4 separate regions of the Homo sapiens genome follow, and all the other regions are linked to region 1. The links are contacts of gene promoters, found by promoter capture Hi-C in human tissues and cell types (Jung and others, 2019). All regions are on one chromosome and are shown on one strand. Each heading gives the region's core, a stretch centred on a gene start or on the middle of the fragment in contact. The rest is flanking DNA. Distances are from core to core; before and after follow the strand shown.

The links. Contacts are between HindIII fragments. The study calls those that stand out against the background at their distance.
Region 2: a contact is called between the fragment with the promoter of RHOT2 here and a fragment that was not itself captured in region 1, in 4 of the 25 tissues and cell types used here (dorsolateral prefrontal cortex, lymphoblastoid cells, spleen and 1 more).
Region 3: the fragment with the promoter of UBE2I here is called in contact with a fragment that was not itself captured in region 1 in 1 of the 25 tissues and cell types used here (lymphoblastoid cells).
Region 4: the fragment with the promoter of CAPN15 here is called in contact with a fragment that was not itself captured in region 1 in 1 of the 25 tissues and cell types used here (aorta).

The regions. Positions count from the first base shown.
Region 1 is chr16:965,004-968,323 of GRCh38, reverse strand. The region is part of intron 1 of LMF1 (lipase maturation factor 1); the gene reads left to right. Among named protein-coding and RNA genes, the nearest start is that of LMF1, 4.3 kb to the left of the region's middle. The HindIII fragment of the contact is 3,168 bases long and covers 414-3,320 here.
Region 2 is chr16:666,882-669,409 of GRCh38, reverse strand. It overlaps RHOT2 (ras homolog family member T2), which reads right to left and starts at 1,278. Exons shown (of 19, transcript NM_138769.3): 1 at 1,174-1,278; 2 at 999-1,057; 3 at 841-922; 4 at 711-754. The coding sequence starts at 1,210. WDR90 (WD repeat domain 90) reads right to left here. Exons shown (of 41, transcript NM_145294.5): 40 at 2,421-2,505; 41 at 1,580-1,978. The coding sequence ends at 1,821. RefSeq lists silencers at 811-900, 1,001-1,100, 1,161-1,500 and an enhancer at 886-1,567. The HindIII fragment of the contact is 52,780 bases long and covers 1-2,528 here.
Region 3 is chr16:1,307,816-1,311,322 of GRCh38, reverse strand. It overlaps UBE2I (ubiquitin conjugating enzyme E2 I), which reads right to left and starts at 1,687. Exons shown (of 7, transcript NM_003345.5): 1 at 1,550-1,687. RefSeq lists enhancers at 566-1,177, 1,879-2,118 and silencers at 1,149-1,338, 1,539-1,838, 2,329-2,618. The HindIII fragment of the contact is 23,762 bases long and covers 1-3,507 here.
Region 4 is chr16:525,471-529,207 of GRCh38, reverse strand. CAPN15 (calpain 15) reads right to left here and starts at 1,496. Exons shown (of 14, transcript NM_005632.3): 1 at 1,179-1,496. LINC00235 (long intergenic non-protein coding RNA 235) reads left to right here and starts at 1,801. Exons shown (of 1, transcript NR_024121.1): 1 at 1,801-2,361. RefSeq lists an enhancer at 2,376-2,937. The HindIII fragment of the contact is 8,144 bases long and covers 1-2,521 here.

The DNA of each region.
Region 1 (3,320 bases), core at 748-3,247:
CTTAGGCAGATTGTCTCAGCAGACATGTAGTAAAGATGTACAGATCAGGAGAACACAGAAACGCCTGCCCTGTCGGGGAAGCTTCGAAGCCAGACCTGGAGAGGCCGGCTGCCAGCGACAGGCCTCTGCATTCAACCTGACTTTGCATCCGTCCTGGGGCTGGCTCCTTCCCACCGCGGGCCTGGGCGTTTCCATGTGCTGCCACCGAGGTGTGTAGGTGCTAGGGGTGTGCTCACTGCACACAGACGTGCATACCGCGGGCGTCCTGGGGTGTCGGGCATGCCCTGCTGTGCTGTGGGAGCCGGAGTGTGTTAGCGGAAAGCGGCATTTTCACAGGGCTCAGAGTTGAAGACACACCTGTCTTCCTGACGTGTGGACTCGGGTCCCTAGTGTGATTACTGCGTTGAGCAGATGCTGAAGTAGCACCCTGCCCGGTGCTGACCTCCTGGTGACAACGCCACTACCCCCAGTGGACAGCGAGGAAGCAGGGTCAGCCACTGGCCCGGCTGTGCAGCGATTGTCCGTAGGCCCTGGAGTTCAGCCCTGCCCTTCATTCACGCCACTGTGCAGCCTGCGTATCCTGGACACCCGGTTCACATCTGGGCAGCGGCGTTCTCGGGCCGTGACGGCTCCTGGGAGGACCGAGGCTGCCCGAGGTGGTCGGGGATGCCTGACACTGACACTGAGCTTCCCCTCAGCACAGATGTCACTCCCAGGAATGGCTGAAATCTGGACGAGTAAAAGCTTATGTGACAGGAGTTTCCGGCCTAAGCAGCGGGACCTGGGTGCCATGTTCTTGGTGTGTAGGGGCAGTGCCGGCCGCCCATGGGTGCCGGTGCCTCCTGCAGTCAGGCCTGCTGCTGTCTGTGTGCGCAATAAGGAAACCGAACCCAAGAGTGGGCACCATGCCCAGGCTCACCGGAACAGAGGGCAGAGCAGCCTGGCCAGAATCCCTCACTGTTTTATGGCAGGAACCCCCAGGGTCGTGCGTCGACGTTGTGGCCCGGCGTTCCCTGCGGAAGATTGAGGCCCTCACTGGTCAACCCTGCAGTACGGGGGCGTGTGTGGCAAACAGCTGGTCTGGAGCCTCGTCAGCCAGGCCGGCTCCTTGATGCTTTGAAATCCCCCTCCCAGGGGGCCTGGCCAGGTCCGTCCATGGGCGGCCACAGGCAGCTGGGGCTGGACTCCTGGAATTTCCAGCAGCCCTGTGTCTGTTACAGCGCCAGTGGTAGAGCTGGATTCCCTGACAAGACGGGGGAAGGACAGCCTTGCAGGTGCTACTGAAGACACCCTAGGCTAGAGCTGCCCACCCTGGGTGGGTTCTCCTGGACTGAACTGACGTTGGTTTGCTATTGATGAGAGTCACATAGTATATGTACACAATGCATTTTAACTGCCTCAGAATTAAGGTGTTATCTGGAAACAGTGTAATTACAGTTGGTCAGAATTGGGTTGATAGCAGTTCACTGCAGAGAACTTTCTGGAAGCTGTGACAGGTGGAAGTAGTGGGGCTCAGGGTTGGTGGGCCACACCTTAGCTGTGTGGCCTTGGCCAAGTTGCTCATCAAGACCTTCCTGTCACTGATGAGGTGAGAGTGACCGCTGGGCCGTCCTGAGGCTGACATGGGATTCCTTGCCTGTGCACACTTCCCAGAAGGCGGACCAAGGACACACCCGCCTGGGAGACGGCTCGCAGGCAGCCACGGAGTATATATATCTGAACGTCGGAAAGGACCTTTCCTTTGAAGCTCAAACATTTATGAGATATTGTTACAATTCGGAAGGGATCTGTAGGTGAAATGTGACATGAAGACTGGGTAACGTTGGCATTTGCAGACTGACTTTATGTGTGGCACTTTTCGTGGGTGCCATGGCGTCGGCGCAGAGACACTCCTGAGGGATTTCGTCTGTCGGTCCATGTGTTTGTGGGGGCCGAGTCCTGGACAGGCCTAGGAGGGAACCGCCCCGGCCAGGGCCGGCTGCTCGGCGCCTGCACAGGGCATGAGTGCTGGGGGCTTTGGGACACACGCTCCCTGCTGCCTCTGGGGCAGATGTCCACCTGCACTGCTTGCAGTGAGAGGCTGGGGCCCCAGTGGACGAGCCGTGGTGCCTGAACTGCTCCCGCTGTGTCCCCGCCACGTGAGGCATCTCTTCCTGACCGTGGTCCTGAGACCACCTGGCCTCTGCCTTCCCAGGGTTAACTGTACTTGTTCTCTCCGTGGCTGCCGACACCCTTCTGGCCTTCAGACTTAGCCCTCATCACTCGTGGACTCCTGACCCCACCCAGGGCTGACCACCGGAGCCCTGCTCTCTGCTTCCTTTGCGGCTGATATTGTCCCCATTCCAGTGTTGTTCTTGTGCCTGTCTCCCCTCTAGCTCCTTGCAGTCAGGGAGAGGACTTTCTTTATACCTCTATCCCTTGTCTTCTAGGGGCATCTCCTGCTCAGTGAAATGTGCTGACCCGTAGCAGGTGGTCTCTACCAGGGCTTAGTGTCAGCATGGGACACTTTTCCAGCCATTACCCCTTCTTTCCCCTCTACCCACCTCCAGCCCCGAGGTGCGGCCCAGCAGGACAGATACTGCCACAGCCCTCCCTTGGTTGTGTTCATACTTCCTGGGCTGCTCATGCCTTCCTGTTTGCTGGTGGATTCTCTTTTTGCTGGAGTGTATCCCCAAGCAGCTTTTCCAGAAAGGACCAACTTGCCCGGATCTCTAATTCTCCATCAAAGCCACTTTCCCTCAGAGCTTTGCAGCATTGAGGAGGCATCTTCAAGCATCTGACTCTTCTTCTCCCTGGAAGCTTCTAAAGTCTCAGTGCCTTGCCCTCCTGCTCTCCACCTTTGCTCTCTGTTCTGGTTATTTATCGAGGAGTCTCTGAGGCTCTTTTTTTTGCTCTCTTGTAGTGGCCTTGGTGAGCTCTTCAGCCTCAAGGCTTGTCCTTGGCTCTGGATGAGGCTCTTCTGGCCTCTCCCCAATCTGCCCATGTGTTCCAAACACCGCATGCCCCAGCTGGGTTCCAAACAGGGCGGGTGGGGGCCACTCTCCTGTCTAGCTTCGTAGCGTGGGCTGAAACCTGGGAAAGTCTCTCCATGAAGCTGAATGGAGAAGAACATGGCTTCCGCGAGGCCCTAGGAGCCAAGCACCACACAGAACCCACCGCTTGGCTGTGATCCCGAGTGACGGGGACAGCCTGGACTGCAGAAGGAATGCCCAACGCTGGCGGGAACGGAGGGGCTTTTCTTGCTCGTCTTTCCAGTTCCACATTGTCACATTGGAGTCCTGGGCTCACTGAGATTATGTTGAAAATCCGACCTCTAGGGG
Region 2 (2,528 bases), core at 29-2,528, 300 kb after region 1:
AGCCTTCCCTAAAACCTGCCTCCAGCCTGGTGTTGGCAGAGCAGGCACTCCCCAGTGTCACACTGGGAGCTGCTGCTGAACCCTCAGAGAAGCCTCTTCCCCGCCCACTGCCAGTGCAGGGACACCAGGCCCCAGAAGCATAACTGTGGTCAGCAAGACCCTTGGAGCAGAGGGCTCAGGACAGACACGGCCACACCTGCAACCCAACACCCTGCAAGACAGCCGCCGCCTTGGCCCCTGCCTCCCCCCTCGCTACAGACAGAGTGACAGGACCGCAGTGAGGGGTGCCAACAGCAGGGGCTGCCCTGGGTGGCTGTGGCCTGTGCCCTTGCCTGGAGATGTCCCCGGCACACGTGCTCTGGTACTGGGAGCTCCGGGTGCCCGGAGGCCGGGACGGTGGGCTGGAGCACACAGCACGGGGACGTGGCGCACACAGAGCCCACAGGAAGAGCAAACGCTGCTGCCACCCCGGCAGGAGGGAGGGAGAGCCCGCGGGGAAGGGTCCTGTTATCCCTGGAGCACCACTGGACTGAGCGGTGCCGGCTCCCAGCGGGGTGCGCTGTAGGGGCCCCGACAACCCTCAGTGCGGAGGTCACAGAATTATCAGGGCCAAGGACACCCGGAGCACCTCGGTCCAATCCCCCAGGCTGCGAAGCGGATTAGGCCGAGCCCGCGCCCAGCCCCTCCCTCGTCCCGCGCACCACGGGTACCTTGTGGATCTCCTCCCGCAGCTCCTCGTCCGTCTGCTCGGCTTCTAGGGGGACAAAGAGACTCCACTGCGGACCCAGCAGGCCCGCCGGACCGCTGCGGGCCGGGCCCCCGGGAGGCTACGGCCGCTACCTGAGTAGTCCACGATGTGGGTGGGCACCTTCTCCGGGGTGACGTCCGCGGGGATGGTGATCTCCTCCGCGCGGGGAGGGACCTGCAAGGGACCCGCGCGCTCACCAGGGACCCCCGGCTGGGCCCGCTCCCACCCCCGCGGCGGGCGTGCCCCTTACCTCCTCGGGGAACTCCTCGCCCACCAGGGACAGGATCAGCGACGTCTTCCCCACCTGGGCTGCGCGGGGCGAGGCGGTCAGCGCGAGGGCCAAGGTCACGGCGCCCCCCGACCCCCGAGACCCTCACCCCGCCTCACGGCCGCCGCAGCTCCGAGACCCCCGGGCCGGCGCCTACCCTCGCCCAGTAACAGGATGCGCACGTCCCGCCTCATAGCTGCCGCCCGGAGCCGCTCCCCGACCCGGAACCCGGCCCCGACCTGGTCCTCAAGCCTTTCGCTCTGCCCCCGCGCCCGCCCCGCACTTCCGGTTCTCGGCCCCGCGCTGTCCCCACACTTCCGGCCCCGCCCGCACAGCCGCACCAGCGAGCCGGGCGGGCCAGAGCGGACAGGCTGTGCGGCGCGCCACCGTGTGGACGCGCCGGCCACGGCGGACAGCGCAGGGTCCTGGCGCCCTGGCAGGCCGAGCGGCCATTGCTTCACGGCACCACAGGGGCCTTGACAAACAGCCGATTAAGGGACGGGCAGAGGCTGAGCTCAGGCCAGGAGTGACCAGAGACAGCCAGTGCAACAATGCAGCAATAATGCAATAAATGCCCATGTTTATTACAAGATAGAAACATTAAAGATTTCTTAGGCAAAAGGGCAACAGGTATGAAAGTATTCACAGGGCGCCAAATTTACAACAGCTTGCTCCAGGCGATTTACGTGAATCCTGGCCTGTCCCAGCATGAGGCCATTGACAACCTGGCGCCTCTGCCAAGCCTGTGTCCAGGTGCCTGGCATGACCAGGCGTGATGCCCACCACCACAGTCCCTGCTGCATCTCAGAGGCCGGGGACCTCCCACACAAGGATCTCGTTGCGGGCGGCCGTGAAGAGCAGCCTGGCGGACGGTGTAAACCTGCACAGGTGCACTGCGTTGTCGTGGCCGGCAAAGTCTTGGGCAGTCCCCATGGCACAGTCTACCAGCCTCAGCATGCACTCTGTGGGTAGACGGTGCAGGTGGGCCAGGGCCAGGACCAGGCAGCACTCAGAGGGCTCCCCCAACCCACCCAGACTGTCCCCACTGGGCATGATGCTGGTCGGGGGAGCTGGTGCTAAAAGGGCTCCTGGCTGTGCCCTCCACGTGCCACTGGGACTAGGGGGTCCATCACTGCCAGGCTGTCGGCCTGCAGCTGGGCCAGTTCCCTCCTTAAAAGTCGCTGCCACCCGTGCATTCAGGCCCTGTGCTGGGCGCTGTGCCTGGTTCCTCACCTGCCTCATCATCTCCTGACTCCAGGACCCTCTCTAGGGCAGATGTCCTCACCCCACCCCAGAGACGAGGAGCCCGGGGCACAGGTGAGGCACCTGTCTTGGAACAGGGCACCAGTCAGCCCACTTGGCCCCCACCTAAGACAGGCCCAAACTGCATCCACCAGCACTCACCAGCAAAGCCAACAGCCAGGAGGTGGGTCCCGGGGGACAGGCTCAGGGACATGGCAAAAAAGGGCAGTGGTATCTTCTCCACCACCTGTGAGCAGCCAGCGTGAGGCT
Region 3 (3,507 bases), core at 438-2,937, 340 kb before region 1:
TGTTACAATGTAATCACAACACAGATCAAGCGTTCAAAATTCCGCTGAAAATCGAATTTGCCCTTCCAAATTCACAGATAGGCACTTAGTGAACGGCTAGTAGTTACTAAACGCTTCAGAGCAAGAAACTTTTATGATGCAAAGACAAAAACAACCCTCATCTATTAGAGCCAGGCAAGGCCCAGACACTGCAGAAACGGGGACAGGGCCGGGCACTCCAGGAGCGGCCCGAAAGTCTGCCTTCTGTCCTCCTGCTGGGCGCCCGCAACCGGCTGAGCTTTAGCTTCTCGGATCACCGCCTTGCTCTGCTGGTTGACAGCACCGACTTCAGAGCAACTTCCTGGCTGAGGGTGAGCAAAGCACTCACCTCCCACAACTCCACCGCACTGATCTCCACAACGGGTGGTCGCCACGACAGGCTGGCACAAGAAGCCTTTAAAGGCCCTCCTGCACCCAAATGCAAACTCTCCCAGGCTTGGGGAGGTATTCCCTTCTGCAAGACCCAAGCACCTGCAGTCGGGAGACGCTTACCTGGCCGCACCTGATCTGCCCCAGGCCCCGAGAATGTTTCTGAAGCAAGATCCCAAACCCTGAGACACCATACAAGCGCACACCAGCAATCACCCAGTGGCCTAGGGAACGGACCTCTCTGAATGAGCAATCAGGGCAAACTGAGGATCCGTCCCGTCTTCCGTTGCATAGGTTCTCTACCCAAAGGCAACGTTTCTTGAAGAGCAAGAAACACTTGGGGTAGGTCCTGTAAAAGGAAACAAACCGAACTCCCCAAAGACAGGCACTTTGCAAACAGAGAAACTAAGCGTAACTTCCAATTATACAAACAAAACCACTTCATTCTGCGATTCAAGCGTGACTACAGGCCACGATCACAAGCCCAACTAATCATTCCCTTACATTCCTCCTACGCACGTTAACTACCAGAACCAACTACTATTCAACCGATAAAAAGAGATGTCCAAAACAGAATAAAACTCCCCCTCCAGCGAGGCGCTCACGTTCAGGGCCCCAGCAAGCGCCAGCGGAGCATCTTCAGAGGCACAAGAAAACTTACACTTGTTTTGGTTTTAAGGCACCGAAAACAAGCCCGCTCGCCGGCCCCCACCCCCGCGAGCCAGCGATGTTGCAATCCAAGACTCTCCCCCCGCGGCCCATCCTATCCGTCCGCGGGGCGACCGTGACCCCGGAAGCCGCTCCCCGCGCAGGAGGAAGGCGCGGCCTCGCGGGGCCCCGGCTGCAGGTGGCTGCCCCGGCCCCGCGCCAGGCGCACCTCGGGGGCGAAGTGGGGGAGCCCCGGCCCCGAAGGCCTGCGGCGGCCCGGCCGCTCGGGCCGCAGCCCAGCGGCGCCAGCAGCGCGGACCGAGCCGGCGCCGAGCGCGGGGCCTCTCGGGCTCCCCGGAAAGCTCGGCCGCGGCGCGGGGCCCGGCTCGGCGGGGCGGGGCGCGGGGCAGTCGGGGGCCCGGGCCCAACAGGAGTAGAGGCCTCGGCCCGACCCCCGCCCCGCGGCCCCGGCCCGGCCCCCGCACGCGCTCACCTCGGGCGGCCGCAGCCCCGGCGAGCGTAGCGGACAGGTGGAGGACCGAGCGGGGCGGCGGCGGCGGCGCTTCCCTTTGTCTCGGGACTTCCCTCCGGAGCCCGCTCCGCGCGCAGCCAGAGCAGCTCCGAGGACCCTGGCGCGGGCGGGGCGCGCGGGGCGGGGCCTAACGCGGGGCTGCCCTCTGCACGCCTGCCTCGCGCGCCGCTCCTGCCGCCCGGCCCCGAGCGCCTCCCGCGCCGCCGAGCGCTCCCCGTTGCCCGCGCCCCGCCGCCGCGCGCCCGCGCCCCGGGTCCGCCCCAGGAGCCCGGCCGGGGGGCGACTTTCCAGTCAGGCGGCGCCCTGGACACCTACGCCCTTAAAGGAGCCGCGTCCCCGATGTGAGGGAGCGTCTGTAAACTCCCCTTCGGGCTGCCCGCGTCCACCCGAGGACACGCCGGCAAGCAGCGGGGGAAAAAGGAAGCCGAGATCTCCAAAGGCTCCCCGGATGCCTGGCGGTCACCTCTCCAGCCACAGGTCCCGGAGGTTTCCTTGGGGTCAGGTCCTGGGGCCGGGGGTCAAAGACCACTGAGGCCTAAGGATCCTCTGAAGCGTCGCAGGACGGTGACGCTCCCGCGAGTTCAGCGCCCTGTGAAACCCCTTGCAATTGGCCAGTTCGGGGCGGTAGGCGGGGACACCTTCTCATCCGCCCAATGAGCTGACCCCGTACAAAAGGCCGAATGCGAGCATGACCGACGGGAGGAGAAGTGTGGATGCTCCCTAAACCGGGGGCTGGCCCTGGGCCGGGGCGCGGGCGGGACGTGGGGGACCGCGAGCGGCGGGGGCGGGGCGAGCCCGTGGGGGAGGGGCGCTTCCGGTCCCCCCTCCCGCCCACGCAACAAGCAGGACCGGGTCGGGAGGCCCCCAGACCCGCGAGCGCGCGGGACAGTCCGTTCGCCAACGCGCGACCGTGCTGGCCCCCGGGCTCTCCCGGCCCCCCCGCCCGCATTTCGCCGACGGCGGGGCCGCAGCCAAGGTCACGGTGTCCGGGTGCTTGGGGACCGCGGGGAGTGACCACATTCATTCATTCCCTCCCTCACTCATTCATTCATTCCCTCCCCTACTCCGTCATTCCCTCCCTCACTCACTAATTCCCTCCCTCCCTCACTAATTCCCTCCCTCCCTCATTCATTCGATCCCTCCATCACTCAATCATTCCTTCCCTCTCTCACGCATTCCCTCCCTCACTTACTCATTCATTGCCACCCTCACTCACTCATTCCCTCCCTCACTTACTCATTCATTCCCACTCACTCATTCCCTCCCTCACTCACTCATTCCCTCCCTCACTCATTCCCTCCCTCACTCACTCATTCCCTCCCTCACTCATTCCCTCCCTCACTCATTCATTCCCTCCCTCACTCACTCATTCTCACTCTCACTCATTCCCGCCCTCATTCATTCATTCCCGCCCTCATTCATTCATTCCCACCCTCATTCATTCCTTCCCTCCCTCACTCATTCCCTCTCTCATTCATTCCCTCCCTCCCTCACTCACTCATTCCCTCCCTCACTGATTCCCTCCCTCACTGATTCATTCATTCCCTCCATCACTCATTCATTCCTTCCCTCACTCATTCCCTCCCTCACTCATTTCCTCTCTCATTCATTCATTCCCTCCCTCCCTCACTCATTCCCACTCTCACAAACTCATTCCCTCCCTCACTTACTCATTCCTCCCTCATTCATTCCCTCCCTCATTCGTTCATTCCCTCCCTCATTCATTCATTCCCTCCCTCCCTCATTCCCTCCCTCCCTCATTCATTCATTCCCTCCCTCATTCATTCATTCCCTCCCTCATTCATTCCCACCCTCCCTCATTCATTCCCTGCCTCCCTCACTCATTCCCTCCCTCACTCATTCATTCCCTCCCTCCCTCACTGATTCTCTCCCTTATTCATTCCATCCCTCACTCATTC
Region 4 (3,737 bases), core at 247-2,746, 440 kb after region 1:
TCACTGGCTCCTCTGCCAATCAAGGAGCTCTGGAGAGCCTCAGACACAGACAGAAGCAGGAAAAAGAGGGGTGCTCCTCCCGCAAGCAGAAGGACCTCGGAGGAGGCAAGGCACACCCAACCCAAGGCCAGGCCAAGCTGGTTTCCTGCAGGACCTGCCTCCCCCAGACAGGCCAGAAAAACAATTTCTCTTGCCCCACTTCACAGTTGAGAAGTCACTCAGAACCGGAAGGGAGAATCACCCCTATATCCTTGCCCAGCCCCAGACTCTGGAAACGCGGAGGCAATTACGGGGCACTCCCACACTGAACTGTGACTCACGTTTCCGCACCCCTCAGACCTGGGCAGAGGAAGAGATCCGGGTTTCCCGAAGGAGAAGCACACAACTCTTCAGCACCCAACGGAGTCCCAGTCTTCCCCACTGGCCCCACACACCCAGGCCTGGCCTCAGGTTCTGGGCCTCACCATTGCTTTCCGGGTCTTGTTACCTGCAGTCCGGTAACAAACTCCAGAGCAGTAAGGGGGCCCCGAGAGCTCGCCCGGCCAGGGCCAGCTGACCACACAAGAGTTCCCCCGGTCAGGACTAGAGGGGCCCCTTCTGCAGCCAGCGGGAGGACAGCAGATTTGCAACTTCCCAGCTGGTGCCGCAGCAGCCCCAGAGGAACACGGAAGAGAACACTGGCATGGCTGGCACAGACGGGGCTCCCGCCAGCCCCTCCACGCCAGGTGGCCGCCCCCAGGCCGTTCCCCAAGTGAGGGGAGTGATGCCCGCACCAAGCACAACATCCCTAAGGCGGCCAGGACCGCACGATGGGCCCGGATATAAGGGCACTCAAGGGCAGGCAGGGCCGAGGCCGCCTCCGGTGTGCGCGGCCCCCGGGGCTGGCCTCAAGTGACCCACATGGCCCAGGTCCCTGCCGACTTCCCGCCTTCCTCTGGGTTCCTCTGCGAAGCATCGCCCAGCCCTGGCCCCCACCAGCCTGGAGGCGCCAGCGGGCGGCGGGCTGACCCCACTCCGGGGGCCCTGCCGTCCCTGCCCTGGCTCGGAGCCCGGCGCGCCCGGCCCCCGAGGCCTCCTGCGCCCCGCCGAGCCCGCGCTCCCCGCCGCCCTCCGGGCCCGCGCTCCCCGCCCGGGGTCCCCGGCTGGGCGCCCGGCCGGGCCCGGCCGACGGGACTCACCTCCACAGCCCGGCGGCGCCGCCTCGTCCTCGCGGCCCGGGCAGCGCGGCCCCGGCCCCCGGGCCCGCTCGCCCCCGCCGGCCGATCCACAACTTCTGCCTCCGGAGAGCGGCGGGGCCCCTCTCGCCGCCGGCCGCGCTGCCCGGACGGCCTCCCGCTCCTCAGCCGCGGGGCGCCCCGACCCGGCTCCGGCCCCGGCCCCTGCCCGCGTCCGGCGCCCGCCTTACGCTGCCTTCGTAGCGTAGCGCCCGGCCCGGGCCCCGCGGCTACGGCGCGCCCGGGGCGCACGCGGCGCTGTGAATCGCGCGCCCGGACTACGGCTCCCACAGGGCTGCGCGGCGCCGACGGGGCGGAAGCTCGGGGCGGTGCCTGCGCGAGGCAGGCCGGGAGTTGTAGTCCTCGGGTGGCGCCCTCCCAGTCCGCCGACCGCCCGGGCCACTTCTCCTGCCCTCGCTGCTGGAGACGGCCGGGCCCGAGGCCTCGGTCCCCGGGAGGCGCCGCGCTCCAGGATTATCAGGGAGTGGGGCGGCCCGAGGAGGAGCTGGAACTACAACTCCCAGAGGGCCTTGCGAGGGGCACGGAGGGGCGGGGCCTGCAGCCGCGGCGTCTGCGCATCAGCGGCGTCACAGACGCGTGGGGCTCGCGGGGAGCCGGGCTGGGGCCGTCCGTGTCCCGCGGGGCTCTGGGCGGCCGCTCGACCGAGGACCCACGACTCCGCCCCGACCCCGCCGTGTTCGCGAGACCCGGAGACCCCTTCGCGCCTTCCAGGACCGCCCCTTTCGCGACGCTGCGTGCTGTGCTTGGTCCTGGCGGCCAAGAGCGGCGGTGGCAAGGGGACCGCCCTGGCCCGAGACGCGGCCTGGCCTCGCAGCGTCGCTTGGGCACAGCCTCTCTAGGCCCCTTCGTCCTCGGTCGCGGAGGGACGCCATTAAACGGCCACGCCGGGCTCAACTGGGACGCGGCCCACGGCGCCCAACCAGGGCCTGGGGGAGGGAAGCCGGGGCGACTCCTGGGTCCTTCCAGGACCCTTGCGCAGGCCTCATTCTCTCCCCGGAGGTCCCCTTCCCGCTGCCCTGAGGCCACTCTCCTGCCAGCAGCTGCTGGGCCGGCTCTCGGGAGAATGCCTTGGCGTCAAGCTTATCAGGCTGCAGGGCGGGACGCGAGTGCTGAGGGCAGCCAGACTCCCGCTCTTAGGTGCACTTGAGGAGCCTGAGAAGGCAGTGGCTCTGCGGGAGAGGGAGACACAGGAGCAGGGCTGGTCCGCCGAGATTCCGGAGAGACGGTTGTGGGCCGATTCTGTGGCGAGATTTACAAGTGGGAGGTTGGGTGACGATTGCTCCTGGGCCAGAAAATCTAAGCCAGTCTCAGCAAGACCTACAAGGCCAGGGCCAGTGCTCCTCAGAGGATATTCATGCTCCAGGAAAGCCAAGGATGGGCCTCCGTCATGCTGAGATGCCGCAGCAGGGACACCTGTGTCCCACGTGGAGCTCGGCTTCTAGCTGCAGTCAGTGCAGAAGCTGGCAGGAGGGGTTTATTTCTGTCCTCGGAAGCTTTTGGTAAGGACACTTCATTCCTGTGTCTTGGACACCTCCCCCTAGGTCTGCTGCCCCCTCTGTGGAGACAGGCAGGGCAGCTGGATGTGCCGTTTGTTCCCAGACTATATCCATGCCAAAGCATCCCAAGGGCAGGAAATGTGTCCCCGGGGGCCAGTGGGGGTCTGGGGGCACAGAGGGCTGCAGAGTGAGAGCTGGCTCTCCTCTCTGCAACTTGGACAAGGCTCTGGGACCCTGTCCTCCCCAGCTTCCTCACCTGCATGGCAGGATACTGGCCAAGTGTGGCTTTCGAACCACAGGAGAGGGTGCAGTCAAGGCCTCACTCAGGGACCGCAGGTTCTCTTCCCTTCCCAGTCCTTCCCTGGCACTGCCTAGGTGGCTCCCTGGCCAGGGGCCAGTGGTCTAGCCAGCAGGCCTTATAACCTCCCCACCAGAGAGGCAGCTGCAGTTGAACCTGTTGATCTGATGCTGAGGGCCCTGCCAGCTCACTGCAGAGTGGCCAGTTCTGGCCAGTTTTGCTAGGCCAGGCCCATTTGGGGTGAGGAGAGGGTGGGAGCACCCCAGCTCTCCCCAGTAGCCTGTCATGGTGAAGGAGGAAGCCCATTCACCCAGAAGAGGGCCTCAGGAGGCGTCTTCAAGGTGACTGAGGTTTCCCCGCACAAGGAGAGTGCTGGAGGGAATGGGTGCGATGAGAGAAATGAGTCACTCGTGCCTCCGTGAGGCCAGCCTGTGATTGTCTTGAAGATTCTGAGTCACAAGACATCAGGCACACAGGCGTGAATTGTAAATGACTGCACAGCAGAAGGTAAGTGACTCTGGATTATCCAGACCATTGACCGAGCCCTGCTCCGTGCCAGTGCTTCCTGGCCTGAGGACACGACTCTCACATCCAGACAGACCTGAGCAGCTAACGCAAGTGCGCAGAAGCTCGCCAAGTGCCCAGAAGAGCCAAGAGGCGAGCCATGAATCCCCCCTGGAGGAGAAGAGGATGGGGAGGGCCAAACAG